2 separate regions of the Homo sapiens genome follow, and region 1 is linked to region 2. The links are contacts of gene promoters, found by promoter capture Hi-C in blood cells and fetal thymus (Javierre and others, 2016). All regions are on one chromosome and are shown on one strand. Each heading gives the region's core, a stretch centred on a gene start or on the middle of the fragment in contact. The rest is flanking DNA. Distances are from core to core; before and after follow the strand shown.

What was found. The method cuts DNA at HindIII sites, captures the fragments that hold promoters and counts their contacts. A CHiCAGO score of 5 or more calls a contact.
Region 1: a contact is called between the fragment with the promoter of TTC9B here and the fragment with the promoter of CEACAM3 in region 2, in 1 of 17 cell types (total B cells). The highest score is 5.8, in total B cells.

What each region holds. Positions count from the first base shown.
Region 1 is chr19:40,216,920-40,223,407 of GRCh38, reverse strand. TTC9B (tetratricopeptide repeat domain 9B) reads left to right here and starts at 5,024. Exons shown (of 3, transcript NM_152479.6): 1 at 5,024-5,453; 2 at 6,039-6,221. The coding sequence starts at 5,027. It overlaps CCNP (cyclin P), which reads left to right. Exons shown (of 5, transcript NM_024877.4): 4 at 1-20; 5 at 105-1,200. The coding sequence ends at 356. RefSeq lists enhancers at 2,788-3,987, 5,566-6,156. The HindIII fragment of the contact is 9,686 bases long and covers 4,641-6,488 here.
Region 2 is chr19:41,794,932-41,800,927 of GRCh38, reverse strand. CEACAM3 (CEA cell adhesion molecule 3) reads right to left here and starts at 4,341. Exons shown (of 7, transcript NM_001815.5): 1 at 4,187-4,341; 2 at 2,980-3,339. The coding sequence starts at 4,250. The HindIII fragment of the contact is 3,675 bases long and covers 1,538-5,212 here.

The DNA of each region.
Region 1 (6,488 bases), core at 3,775-6,274, 1.6 Mb after region 2:
TGGCAGGGAGCAGCCCCCAGGTGAGCCCTTGTGAATACGCGGGGTGGGGGCGTGGCCGGCGCGAAGTGGGGCGTGGCCTGACAGTCGCCCCGCCTCACTTGCAGGTGATGTTACTTGCCACCTACTTCCTGGAGCTGTCTTTGCTGGAGGCCGAGGCGGCGGGATGGGAGCCGGGTCGTCGTGCGGCTGCGGCTCTGAGCCTGGCGCACCGCTTGCTCGACGGGGCGGGCTCCAGGCTCCAGCCAGAACTTTACAGGTGTAGTCTTGGCGGAGGAAGTGTATGGGGTCACCGCAGCTTCAGGGACTTACCTTCCTGGTCATTTTTACGGTCTCGGAGAATGAGAGACAATTATTGAGGAGGAGGTGGCACCTAGACTTGATTTTTCTGGGTGTGGGAGAGAATGGGGTGGGAGGACCCCATTAGTCCAGATCTGGGGTCTCTTAACCTTGCCCCAGAGTGGAAGATAGTCTCCCAGGCCCAGAAGATGCTCCTATTGCCTTCCAGGGCTGAGAACGAAGGATCACCCAGGCCTCGAGTCCTCCATCTCTGTATCTGGTGGTGGATGGGGTGTTCCTTTAGCTGCTAGGGCCGCTAACCATGCTACCAGGTGGCAGGGCGAACCATGGTTTCCCTCAGCCTGTGCACCCAGCATAGAGAGGATGGCTGCCCATCCTCAGCTCCCCTCCTTGCTTCCTCGAGTGTTCTGACTCCGCACTAGCCGCGCCCTGTAGGAAGAATAGGGTGTCCACCTCTCCCCGGTGCTCGCCTAGTCACTCCAGTTGAAGACGGGACGCGTGCCCGATCTCAAGAGAGCCCCCGACCCGTCCGTGGGGAACCACATCGACGCTTCTTCTCAGCCTCCAGTCTCCAGTTCCAAGGATGGGTCATCTCCAACCACTTGCCCTGCCTCAGTTTCTCCATCTCCCTGCTGCAGCCCCGAGGAACTGGGCACCCTCGAGCCGTGCATGGCCCGCGCTGCGCTCCGAGGTCCCGCGCCGGGTCGCGCCGCAGTCTTCCTCAAGTATGCGCGGCCCCAGCGCCAGGGGACCAGCCTTGCCGCCGCCTGCCTGCTCCGCCGCCTCCAGTCTGAGCCTCCCTGAGTACTGGGACTCAGTCACAAAAAAATCAACAACAAAAAACAAAACCCTCCCAGTGTGTGTCCGTCTCTCATCTCAATAAAAGAATTTATTTTATTCTGAGCGCTCTCTGCCCTCATTGGTCGAATTCCGGTCCCCTCTCGCTTTTGATTGGTCGCTTTCTAGGCCTCGCATCCCTCTGATTGGATGTGCTCACCACTTCCTTTAATGGTTGCTGGGAGATAAAATGCAAATTCTGAACTCCTCCACCAGGGGGCAATGGCGGGCTTCCCCAAGAGTCATTCAGCGGGATAAAACTGGGATCCCTTAAGGACTGGCAAAAAATCACAAGAGATGGGGACTGTGGGGGAGTTGAGAATGCCCATCCCGGTCAGAAGAAATGCTACCTCGATGTTGCCGGATTTTCAGATCTTATTCAAGTAAACCTGAGATTCTGCAATTCCATATCTGCGTTTAGATGTCAACTAATTCAGTCTTTCTGTTTTTGTTGTTGTTTTAGACGGAGTTTCGTTCTTGTTGCCCAGGCTGCTGGAGTGCAATGGCGCGGTCTCGGCTCACTGCAAACTCCGCCTCCCGGGTTCAAATGATTCTCTTGCCTCAGCTTCCCAAATAGCTGGGATTACAGGCTCCTGCCACCACGCCCGGCTAATTTTTGTATTTTTAGTAGAGACATGTTTCACCATGTTGGCCAGGCTGGTCTCGAACTCCTAACCTCAGGTGATCCTCCCGCCTCGGCCTCCCAAAGTGCTGGGATTACAGGCTTGAGCCACCGTACCCGGCCTAATTCAATATTTCTTAATGGTTGTACAAGCCCAACACATCACATATACTGGGCTATGAAGATAGGTTCTCCCAAGCCTGGAAGATGCTCTGCGAAGGTCATCAGTTTGTAGTAGTAAGTCCTGGATAGTAAGAGTTTTATCAATGGGGTCTGATATACTTAACCTGGGAAGTGCCCAGGTGTCAGTGGGGATAATTATGGTACCAACCTCCTGACACTGTGGTGAGGATGTGAGTTAAAATATACGTAAAGCAGCCAGGTGCGATGGCTCAAGTCTATAATCCCAGCACTCTGGGAGACCGAGGCGGGCGGATCACGAGGTCAGGAGTTTGGGACCGGCCTGGTCAACATAGTGAAACCCCGTCTCTACTAAAAATGCAACAAATTAGCTGGGTGTGGTGGCGGGCTTCTATAATCCGAGCTACTCAGGAGGCTGATGCAAGAAAATCGCTTGAACCCGGAAGGTGGATGTTGCCGTGAGCCGAGGTCACGTCATTGCACTCCAGCCCCGGCGACAGTGCAAGACTCCATCTCAAAATAAATAATAAAAAATAAATAAAAGGGAAAGCTCTTTATGACAATGTCTGACACCTAGGAGGTGTTGTAAAAGTGTTAGCATTGCATCCCAGCAGGACTGTGATTTTAGGTACAGTTGTCCTGTGCTACTGTGCCTGGGTACCTAGGCATTTACTTCGTCAGAAAACATGGTTATGAATCAACGGATCTCCTTTTTTTTTTATTTTTTTTTTTGAGACAGGGTCTCACTCTGTCATCATTCAGGTTGGAGTGCAGTGGTGTGATCTCAGCTCACTGCAACTTCCACCTCTTGGGTTCAAGCAATCCTCCCGCCTCAGCCTTCCAAGTGGTGCACGCCACCACCCCTGGCTAATTTTTTGTATTTTTGGTAGAGACAAGGTTTTGCCATGTTGCCCAGGCTGGTCTCGAACTCCTGAATTCAGGTGATCCACTTGCCCCGGCCTTCCAAAGTCCTGGGATTACAGGTGTGAGTCACTGCGCCCAGCCAGATCTCTGTGTTTTTCATTACAAAACAGACACACCGGAGGTAGGGAAAGGTGTGTGCACTGCTCAAGAACTCAAATTCATGAGTTTTACACTCCTAACTGAGCCTGGGTTTGGAGATGCAGAGAGGAAAATGTTTGCACCCCTGAGGTGTTCAAGGCTGGACCCCAGGGATAAGGGAGAAACTCACTCAGCAAAAGCGTTTTACAGCAAAGTACAATAAGAGATAGAGGCAGATGCTCTGGTTGAGATGGAAGGTGCTGAGTTCTGGTTTCTGTCTGTCACATGTGACCTGCCATGGGACCTCCAGCTAGAGGATGTGCTGTGGGGGTGGAGTTGGGGAGAGTGGGGAGGCCTGGGGCTGAGACCCAAGCTAGAGTCTCAGAGGAGGGGGAGGAGTAGTAATGCATAATGCCATTCACTCACACACTCATTCATTCAACAACTATATATGGATGCTGACTCAGAGCCAGGCACTCATGATCACATGACTCAGAGTCTAATGGACGATAAGAAACACCAGTTGTTAATTGCCCATTAATGTATGAAGCCCTGTGCTAAGTGCCTTACCTGCATAAGATAATTCAGTCTCTGCAACCGCTCTGAGGTTAACTTGCCTTCTATCCTCATGTCGCACAGACGAAGCCGAAGGAGGAGGATCGAGGAACTTGGCCCAGGTCCCACAGCTAAGGAGGCGGCAAAGGAGGACTGAAGGGCAGTTGACTCATTCATCCTCGATTTTTTTCTTGAAAGCCTCCTGCATGCTTCCTTTCCTGGGGACTTGTTTGCCCTCTCACTTGTTTTCCCCCATAGACAGCCGAGCTGGATGAGGGCAAGAAGGAGATCTCTCTTGTTTTTAGAGTTATTCCCTCCTCCAGGAAGACTTTATCACCACCTCAGCCCAGGGCAGGTACCTCCCACATCCCAGCCCCGACCCCTCTGCCTGTGCCTCTTCCACCTCGGCCCCGACCCCTCTGCCTGTGCTTCCCAGGCTAGCCTGCTCAGGGCTGTCACTGTCTGGTCACTGGTCTGTCTTCCCACTGAACTGGGGCCCAGTGAGAGTAGGGTCTGAAGCTCACGCAGTGTCTGCTATGTCCCAGCATCATCCAGCACAGAGCTGGGCACAGAAAGGATGTCAGTGAATATTTGTTTCATAAATTAACAGATGAATCCCAAAGGTGGTATTATTTTTAATTCCTTTCCTTTCCTTTTTTCTCTTTCCTCTTTCCCCTTTCCCCTTTCCTTTCCTTTCCTTTCCTTTCCTTTCCTTTCCTTTCCTTTCCTTTCCTTTCCTTTCCTTTCCTTTTTTGAGACGGCATCTCCCTCTGTCACCCAGGCTGGAGTGCAGTGGCACAATCTCGGCTCACTGCAACCTCTGCCTCCCAGGTTCAAGTGATTCTCCTGCCTCAGTCTCCCGAGTAGCTGGGACTACAGGTGCACGCCACCACACCAGGCTAATTTTTGTGTATATATACAAAAATTTTGTATATATTGTATATTAGTAGAGACGGAGTTTTGCCATATTGGCCAGGCTGGTCTCAAACTTCTGACCTCAAGCGATCCATCCACCTCGACCTCCCAAAGTGCTGGGATTACAGGCGTGAGCCACCTCGACTGGCCCTAAAGGTGATATTATTGTGCCATGTTACTGATGAGGATACAGAGTTCCAGGTAGTTTAAGCGAGCTGTCTAAGTCATACCACTAGTGAGAAAGTAAGCAGGGATTTGAATTTGGGAAGCTTGGGTCCAAATCCTGTGTTCTCATTCGATATGCCAAATGGCCAGTGGGCTGAGAGCCAGCTTTCCGTGAGGCTGATGTCTTCCTGCTCTTTCCCCCAGGCTCGTCCTTTCCTTCTAGAAATCTTCGGGAGCTTTGGGCACCGGGGAGGAGAGCAGGCAGGAGGTTGGGGAGGGTAAGGGGAATGGGAACAATTCGGGGGGCGGGCTGGAGAACTAGGACTTGGTTAATTTGAGAGTGAGCATGGGGGAAGTCTCGAGGGGTTTCCCTAGACCCATAGGGGGCAGCCGGAGTCGGCTGCCGGAGGTGAGGGGGCGGAGAAAGGGTGGGGACCAGCCCCGCGGGGGGCGATGCGGTAGCTGCAGCGGCGGCGGCAGGAGTTTCCCACAATGCAGCGCGGCGCGCTGTCCCCGGTGCTGATGCTCAGCGCTGCCCCGGAGCCTCCGCCGCGCCCGCCTCCCGCCCTCTCCCCACCGGGCTCGGGCCCAGGCTCGGGCTCCCGCCATGGCTCGGCTCGTCCCGGTCCTACCCCAGAGCCGTCGGGGAGCCTGGGCGCGGCGCTCGACAGCAGCCTGCGTGCCGCCGTGGCGTTCAAGGCAGAGGGCCAGCGCTGCTATCGAGAGAAGAAGTTCCGGGAGGCCATCGGCAAGTACCACCGAGCGCTGCTGCAGCTGAAGGCGGCGCAGGGGGCCCGCCCTAGCGGCCTGCCCGCCCCCGCCCCCGGGCCCACCAGCAGCCCCGGGCCGGCGCGCCTCAGCGAGGAGCAGCGGCGCCTGGTGGAGAGCACGGAGGTGGAGTGTTACGACTCCCTCACGGGTACGCCGTCGGGGGGTGGGGGGATGGGGCACGAGGGGAGGGGGCAATCGGGAGAGCTTGGCGACTTGGGGGCCAGGGGCCCTGGGGCTGAAGGGTCCAGGGCTGTGGGCTTCTGGGGGAGCCTTCAGAGCTTGATCAAGGAAAGGGATTAGGGGTAGGGGATGACAGGGGTCTGTGGCTGGAGGGAGCTGGGATGCAGGAAATGGTCTTTGGGTCGGGTATTCAGGGCCTCGCTTCCCCTGAGTCATTCTTTCCACCCCCTGGCCGCACGTGGACCCAAGGTGAGGAAGTCTGCCCTGAGCCAGGCTCTCGAGGTCCCGGCCCTCGCCCCCGCGCGGGGCCTTAGTGCTCTTGCCCACCGACAGCTCTGGGTGGATCGCCCAGTGGCGCCTGTCCGTGTTTTGGCGCCCCCTAGCAGCGGCGCAGTTGCGCCTGTTTCGATAGGCGAGCGGATTGGCGCCCCTGGTTGCCGGAGCAATCCCTTAGGCCTGGTTCCCTGCCGCCTGGAGCCTCGGCTCCTCGCAGTCAGGTGGGTTCTGGGGGTGCCAGCAGGCTCTGAGAGTGCCGGCCGCGGGGCCCTCGCAGCTTGCCTGCTGCAGTCGGAGCTGGTAAACTACGAGCGCGTGCGCGAGTACTGTCTCAAGGTACTGGAGAAGCAGCAGGGCAACTTCAAGGCCACCTACCGTGCCGGCATTGCCTTCTACCACCTGGGCGACTACGCACGCGCGCTGCGCTACCTGCAGGAGGCCCGCAGCCGGGAACCCACAGGTGAGTGGCGGGGCGGGGCAGAGGTGAGGGCTGGGCCCAGGGCGGGGAAAGGGGCTGCAGCGGAGGGAACAGGCAGGAAGATCAGGGCAGAATAGCAGAGCCCTCCTCCCGCGGAGCTGCTTCTAGGTAGGGCTGCGCCACCCACCTACTCCCTACACGCCCACTCATCCATTCATCCACCCCGCCCTTCACCCGCCATTCAAACATCCGTCCACCTATCGCTCCTCTGACATCTCCCCGGCCATTTCTCATCTACCGTCATTGCCA
Region 2 (5,996 bases), core at 3,092-5,591:
GAAGACACAAGATAAAGAGATAAAAGAACAGACAGCTGGGCCCCGGGGGGATCACTACCACCAATGCGCGGAGACTGGTAGTGGCCCCGAATGTCTGACTGCGCTGTTATTTATTGGATACAAAGCAAAAGGGGGAGGGTAAAGAGTGTGAGTCATCTCCAATGATAGGTAAGGTCACGTGGGTCATGTGTCCACTGGACAGGGGGCCCTTCCCTGCCTGGCAGATGAGGCAGAGAGAGAGAGGAGACAAAGAGAAAGACAGCTTATGCCATTATTTCTGCATATCAGAGACTTTTAGTACTTTCACTAATTTACTACTGCTATCTAGAAGGCAGAGCCAGGCGTACAGGATGGAACGTGAAGGCGGACTAGGAGCGTGACCACTGAAGCACAGCATCATAGGGAGACGGTTAGGCCTCCGGATAACTGCGAGTGGACCTGACTGGTGTCTGGCCCTCCACAAGAGGTGGAGGAGCAAAGTCTTCTCTAAACTCTCCCGGGGAAAGGGAGACTCCCTTTCCCGGTCTGCCAAGTAGCGGGTGTTTTCCCTTGACACTTACGCTACCGCTAGACCTCGGTCTGCCTGGCAACGGGCGTCTTCCCAGGCGCTAGTGTCACCGCTAGACCAAGGAGCCCTTCTGGTGGCCCTGTCTGGGCATAACAGAAGGCTCGCACTCTTGTCTTCTGGTCACTTCTCACTATGTCTCCCCAGCTCCTATCTCTGTATGGCCTGGCTTTTCCTAGGTTGTGATTATAGAGCGAGGATTATTATAATACTGGAATAAAGAGTAATTGCTACCAACTAATGATTAATGATATTCACATATAATCATATCTAAGATCTATATCTGGTATAACTTTTCTTGTTTTATATTTTATTATACTGGAACAGCTCGTGTCCTTGGTCTCTTGCCTCGGCGCCTGGGTGACCTGCCGCCCACAAACCAGGACCAGGGAGACCTGAAAACCTTCCCACAGGTGAGCTGTGCCAGAGTCCCATGAGATGCGGTTCTTGGGGTAGCTTTAGGGGCAGGGGTTAGAGGAATGCAACAAGGATCCCGGCCCCTGGAGGGACAGGAAACAGGTGTGGCCAGAACCTTATAGGATTCTGCATCCAAGATCCGGTCTCTGAAGAGTTTAAGAATTATTCATCATTCATTCCTTCCCTCCTTCGTCAGAGAACTACTGAGTGTGTGTCTCTCACTGGGCCCTGCGCTGGTGCAGGGTGTGAGTGGGGAGTGTTTTATCCTCCTGTGGGAGTGTCACTGACACATCAGGAAACACAGGATTTCAGGTCGAGTGAGGGCAGTGGTGCGCATCTGAGAGGGAGGCCCGGACATTCCTGGCACTGACTCTGTTGACACAAGGGATTTAGTTCTAGGTTAGGCTAATGTGTTAGGCTATTTTTTGTTACTATAAGGAAATGTCTGAGGCTGGGTAATTTATAAAGAAAAGAGATTTAATTGATGCAGGGATCTGCAGGCTATACAGGCATGGCACCAGCGTCTGCTCGGCTTCTGGTGAGACCCAGCAAGCTTACAATCATGGTGGAAGGAGAAGGGGGAGCAGGTGGTGTCATGTGGCAAAAGCAGGAGCAAGAGAGAGTGTGGAGGCGCCACACACTTTTAAAGAACCAGATCTCCTGTGCACTCAAAGTGAGAACTGACTTGTCACCAAGGGGATGGTGCTGAGCCACTCATGAGAAACAGCCCCCCATGATCCAATCGCCTCCCACCAGGCCTCACCTCCAATGTTGGGGATCACATTTCAACATGAGATTTGGAGAGGATAAACATCCAAACTATATCAGGAAAAATTGATTAATTTTCCATTTGCCCCTTACTCTCCAGACCAAAATCTCCCCCTCTGAGATGTGGATGCCCAAGAAAAAGGAAAGAGAACTTAGGACTGGTCTCAGGCCTGCAGATGTCTAATAATAACGCCAGCCGTCCCCTGGTGGAGAAGAGGCAGCTGTGGCTGCAGAGAGACCTCGTGTGACTCTAATCTGACACCTTTGACTTGTGTGACCCTAGTCGGTGACTGTCTCCCTGTTCCTCAATTTTTTTTTTCAATAAGTAGGATAAGTGCTATTTGGCTGTGACGTTGTTTGTGAATTAATCTCAAAATATTTACAATTACTTGACCTCAGCTGTGTATAGAGGAGCTGCCCAAAGGAACAGCATCTATGCTTATTTGCCTCCAAAAGAGAGGTCCCTGAGTCTGATCCCTTGTGGAAAAGGAGCTGCTGGGAGCATCTTCTCTCTTCTTTTTCCTCCCCCTGGGGATACTGAACTTCCCATGGAGTCATCTAAGTTCCCCTGGGCAGTGGGCTCATGCCCTAGTAATCTTGTCCATCTGTTCACTCCATGCTGAGTCTCAGGTAAAGGATGAGGCCCTGTCCTTGCCCAGGAGAGGTTCTTGGGGCTGGACCCTGGCTGGTGACCAACTCCAGGAGCCACGACCCTCAGACAGCTGGTAAATTCTTGCTCCCAGTCAGCCCTGCCCAGGAGGCCTCACTCAGCCCTGGCACAGGATCCCTAGGGTCCCCAGGGTCACCTGGAGTCAGGAATCTGGGACAGGGATTTGCACAGGGGCTCAGTTCTGGGAAGAGTTGAGCTTCTCTCTGAGAATCCTAGGGGGACCCCTCAGGCCAGGCCCTGATCCAGTTCTCCAGGGTCTTTCTTAGGGTCAGGTCCATGGGGAGACCATGGGGTTCTTTTCTGACACTGACCTTGCCCTGCTGAGTCCCCCCATCAGACTGTCCTTCCTCTGCAGCGAGTGTCTGCAGGGTCTGGATGCAGGAAAGGAATTCTGATCTGTGGAAGTTTGTCTCCCCCGTGTGTGTCCTGCACTAAATGTCCAAACCCTGATACAGAATGTAATGCAGAGAGGGCCACAGGCACAGCCCAGGCCTGACAATCCCATATGTGGGAAGTAGAACTGACCCCCAACACCCAGAGGTCATGTGGAAATACTCACGGTATACATGGAACTGTCCAGTTGCTTCTTCATTCACAAGATCTGACTTTATGACTTGTAGGGTGTAGAATCCTATGTCATTCTGGGTGACATTCTGGATCAGCAGGGATGCATTGGTGTATATTGTCTCTCGACCGCTGTATGCGGCCCCTGGGGTAGCTTGTTGAGTTCCTATTACATATCCTACAATTAGACTGTTGCCATCCACTCTTTCCCCTTTGTACCAGCTGTAGCCAAAAAGATGCTGGGGCAGATTGTGGACAAGTAGAAGCACCTCCTTCCCCTCTGCGACACTGAGCGGCATGGATTCAATAGTGAGCTTGGCAGTGGTGGGCGGGTTCCAGAAGTTTAGAAGTGAGGCTAGGAGGGAGAAAGCATCAGTCAATATTGGGACCCATGTATTGGGATGGAAAGATGGGGCCCTGGGTCCTGAGAGAGTCTCTTCACCCTTCAGCCTTGGAGAGTGTATGTGTGTCCCACTTGGTCAAGGTCAGTAACGTGACCTTTCTTTCTTCAGCACCTCTAACCTTGGCATTTTCCTGTGTGGAATCCCCTTCCCCAGGGGTCTGCATGGCTCCCTCCCCACTGCCCTCAGATCCTGCTCACATCAGGGCATCCTTGGGAGATCCCTCCCCTGACACCTCCTCTAGAGACCCTGGGTCTTCCCTTTCTGACCTTTTTCTGCTCTGTTCCCTCCAGGGCTCTTGTCAACACCTGAACTCACATTCTAGATCTCTTTGGGTGTCTATCTTCATCTCTGCAAGAGTGTAAGCTCTTTGAACACAGAGACTTGTCTGATATTTGTTGTACGCCAGTGCCTAAAATTTGATTGCAAATACTGGTGGATGAGTTAAGGAGTGGTGGTTATTTTGCAACTTGTGGTTGGTGGTCAAAGACAGGTTTTAGTGCCCTGGTTATATTTTTATTTAAAGTATCACCCTGATGTAATTCTTATTCTTATCATTTTCTAATTGTAGTGGCCAGTAATGATTAACTTGGAAAACATGATCAATGGATTTTCCTCCCTCTTATCAATCCCAGTTCAATGTGATTGTCTTGTTGTGACCCGTGTCCCTCTCTGATGTTCTCTCCCCTGAGGCTTCAGCAGAAGCCTTCTGTCCCCTATCAGAGCCCCATCCTCCCCAGGAGACCCCAGCCATTCTCTGTGATCCCTCCTCTTGCCCACTCCCAGGAATCCTCCACTCACCTGTGAGCAGAAGCCCCTGCCAGGGGATGCATTCTCTGTGGGGAGAGGCTGAGGGGGGCCCCATGGTCTCTGCTGCCTGCTCTTTCCTCCTCTGTGGAAAAGAGCCTGGGCTCCAGGAATGCTGTAGTCAGGGCTACTGTGACTTAGGCTCTGCTGTCCTTCCTCTTTCCATGCTGAGCCTCCTCCCAGGGCAGGAGCACTTTCCAGGGTCATGGGTGAAGCTCTGCCCAGGTCACCTCTCTGTCCCCTCCCCTCTCAGTTTTGCCTCATTTTCTCTTCTTCCTTTCTCCCTTCTGTCTACATTTGAGTTCCCCAGACCAGGCTCTGAGAAGCAAGGCTTACTTGGATCCCTGTTTCATAACAGGATGACCCTCCCTCCCCAGCGTGGACCTCTGCTCTGCCTTGGCCTTGGGTCTGTCAGCACCATGCAGAGTCCCTGGGGTCCCTGAACCTGGTGTTATTTTCTCTGTGACGGAGAAACTCCTTTGTGTGTGCAGGGTCTTCTTACTGTTCTCACATGTCTGGGAAGGTTGGATTTACTCCCAGCAAGGAGGTCACAGAGATGTCTGGGGTCCTACAAATGGATATATCTAGGGCTAAAGCCCGGATCTAAGATTCTGAGCTGTTCTTTCTGCAGCATTATGTGACTCTAATTTCCTGGGAGTAACTGAGAATGAGGCTTCACAGTGCTGTAGCTTTATGTCATCCAGACACCAGACATTTCTAGGCTGACTTTATGATTTTCTCTCTAGCTTGTACCACCTTTATTATTATATATTTCATCCTTTTTTCTAAATAAATTTAGTTTACAAAACATCCTGTCCTAGCAGGGATCGGTGGCTCAGATCTGTGATCCCAGCTACTCGAGAGGCTATGGTGGGAGGATGGCTTGAGGCCAGGAGTTGGAGACAAAACATCCTTGTCTTATGCAATATTGTCCATGAAATTACAGATTTGATGTGTGCTTAAATGTTTTCTCAATGTATATTAAAATAAACGCATAAGTATTAAAGTTTTTAAAAAGCTTACTTACGTTTCGCCTAAAATCAGTTTTTGGAAATGCTGACACAGTGGCATAAACATGAACTTTATGTCCAGATGTACCTGGGGACAGCTAATGGTTCTGTCACTTAACTATGTTGACTTGGACAAGTCACGTGGCTTCTATGATCCTTGATTCCCTGATTTGTAAAAGGAGGATGGTAAAATCCTCCTTGCAGAGTTGTTGGGAATAAGTGAGCTGCTGTGGGAGCCCCGTGCCCAGGCGGGTGTTGAGTACATGGTGGTTGTCATCGTGGTTATTGCTGTGGAATTCTGGTTTTCAAAGAGTGTCTACGCCGGAATATTGGGCTTGTGGCTTTCTGCTGATGTGGATGTGTGAAAAAGCTACTTTTGCTTGTTAGAACTTGTGGTGCATCTGTCATTATTTTCATTTCCCAGTTCCACTACCTATTTTCTCTGTGATGTTGGTCAAGTTGCCTAACTTTTCTGTGCCTCATTTACCTAATTTGTGAAATGTGGGTAACAGTACACTAGTGTGGGTGTGTTATTTCCCAGCTCTGACCACTAGAGGGCATAGAAGCACCGGCACCTACTAGCAATGGGCATATGGGCGCCCATGGTCTGTAAACATCATTCTCCCATGAAAGGAACCAGGGTTCCCTGGAGAAATGGCTGATTCCAGGGCTGGGGCAGGAAACCACAAGAGGAGACTGGAGCATCTTGCGGGGCCTGAGAGTAAGGCACAACTTGAAAAATGATGGGGATGTGTGGAAAGTATCACAAATGCCAACTAGAAGAAGCTCCCAAT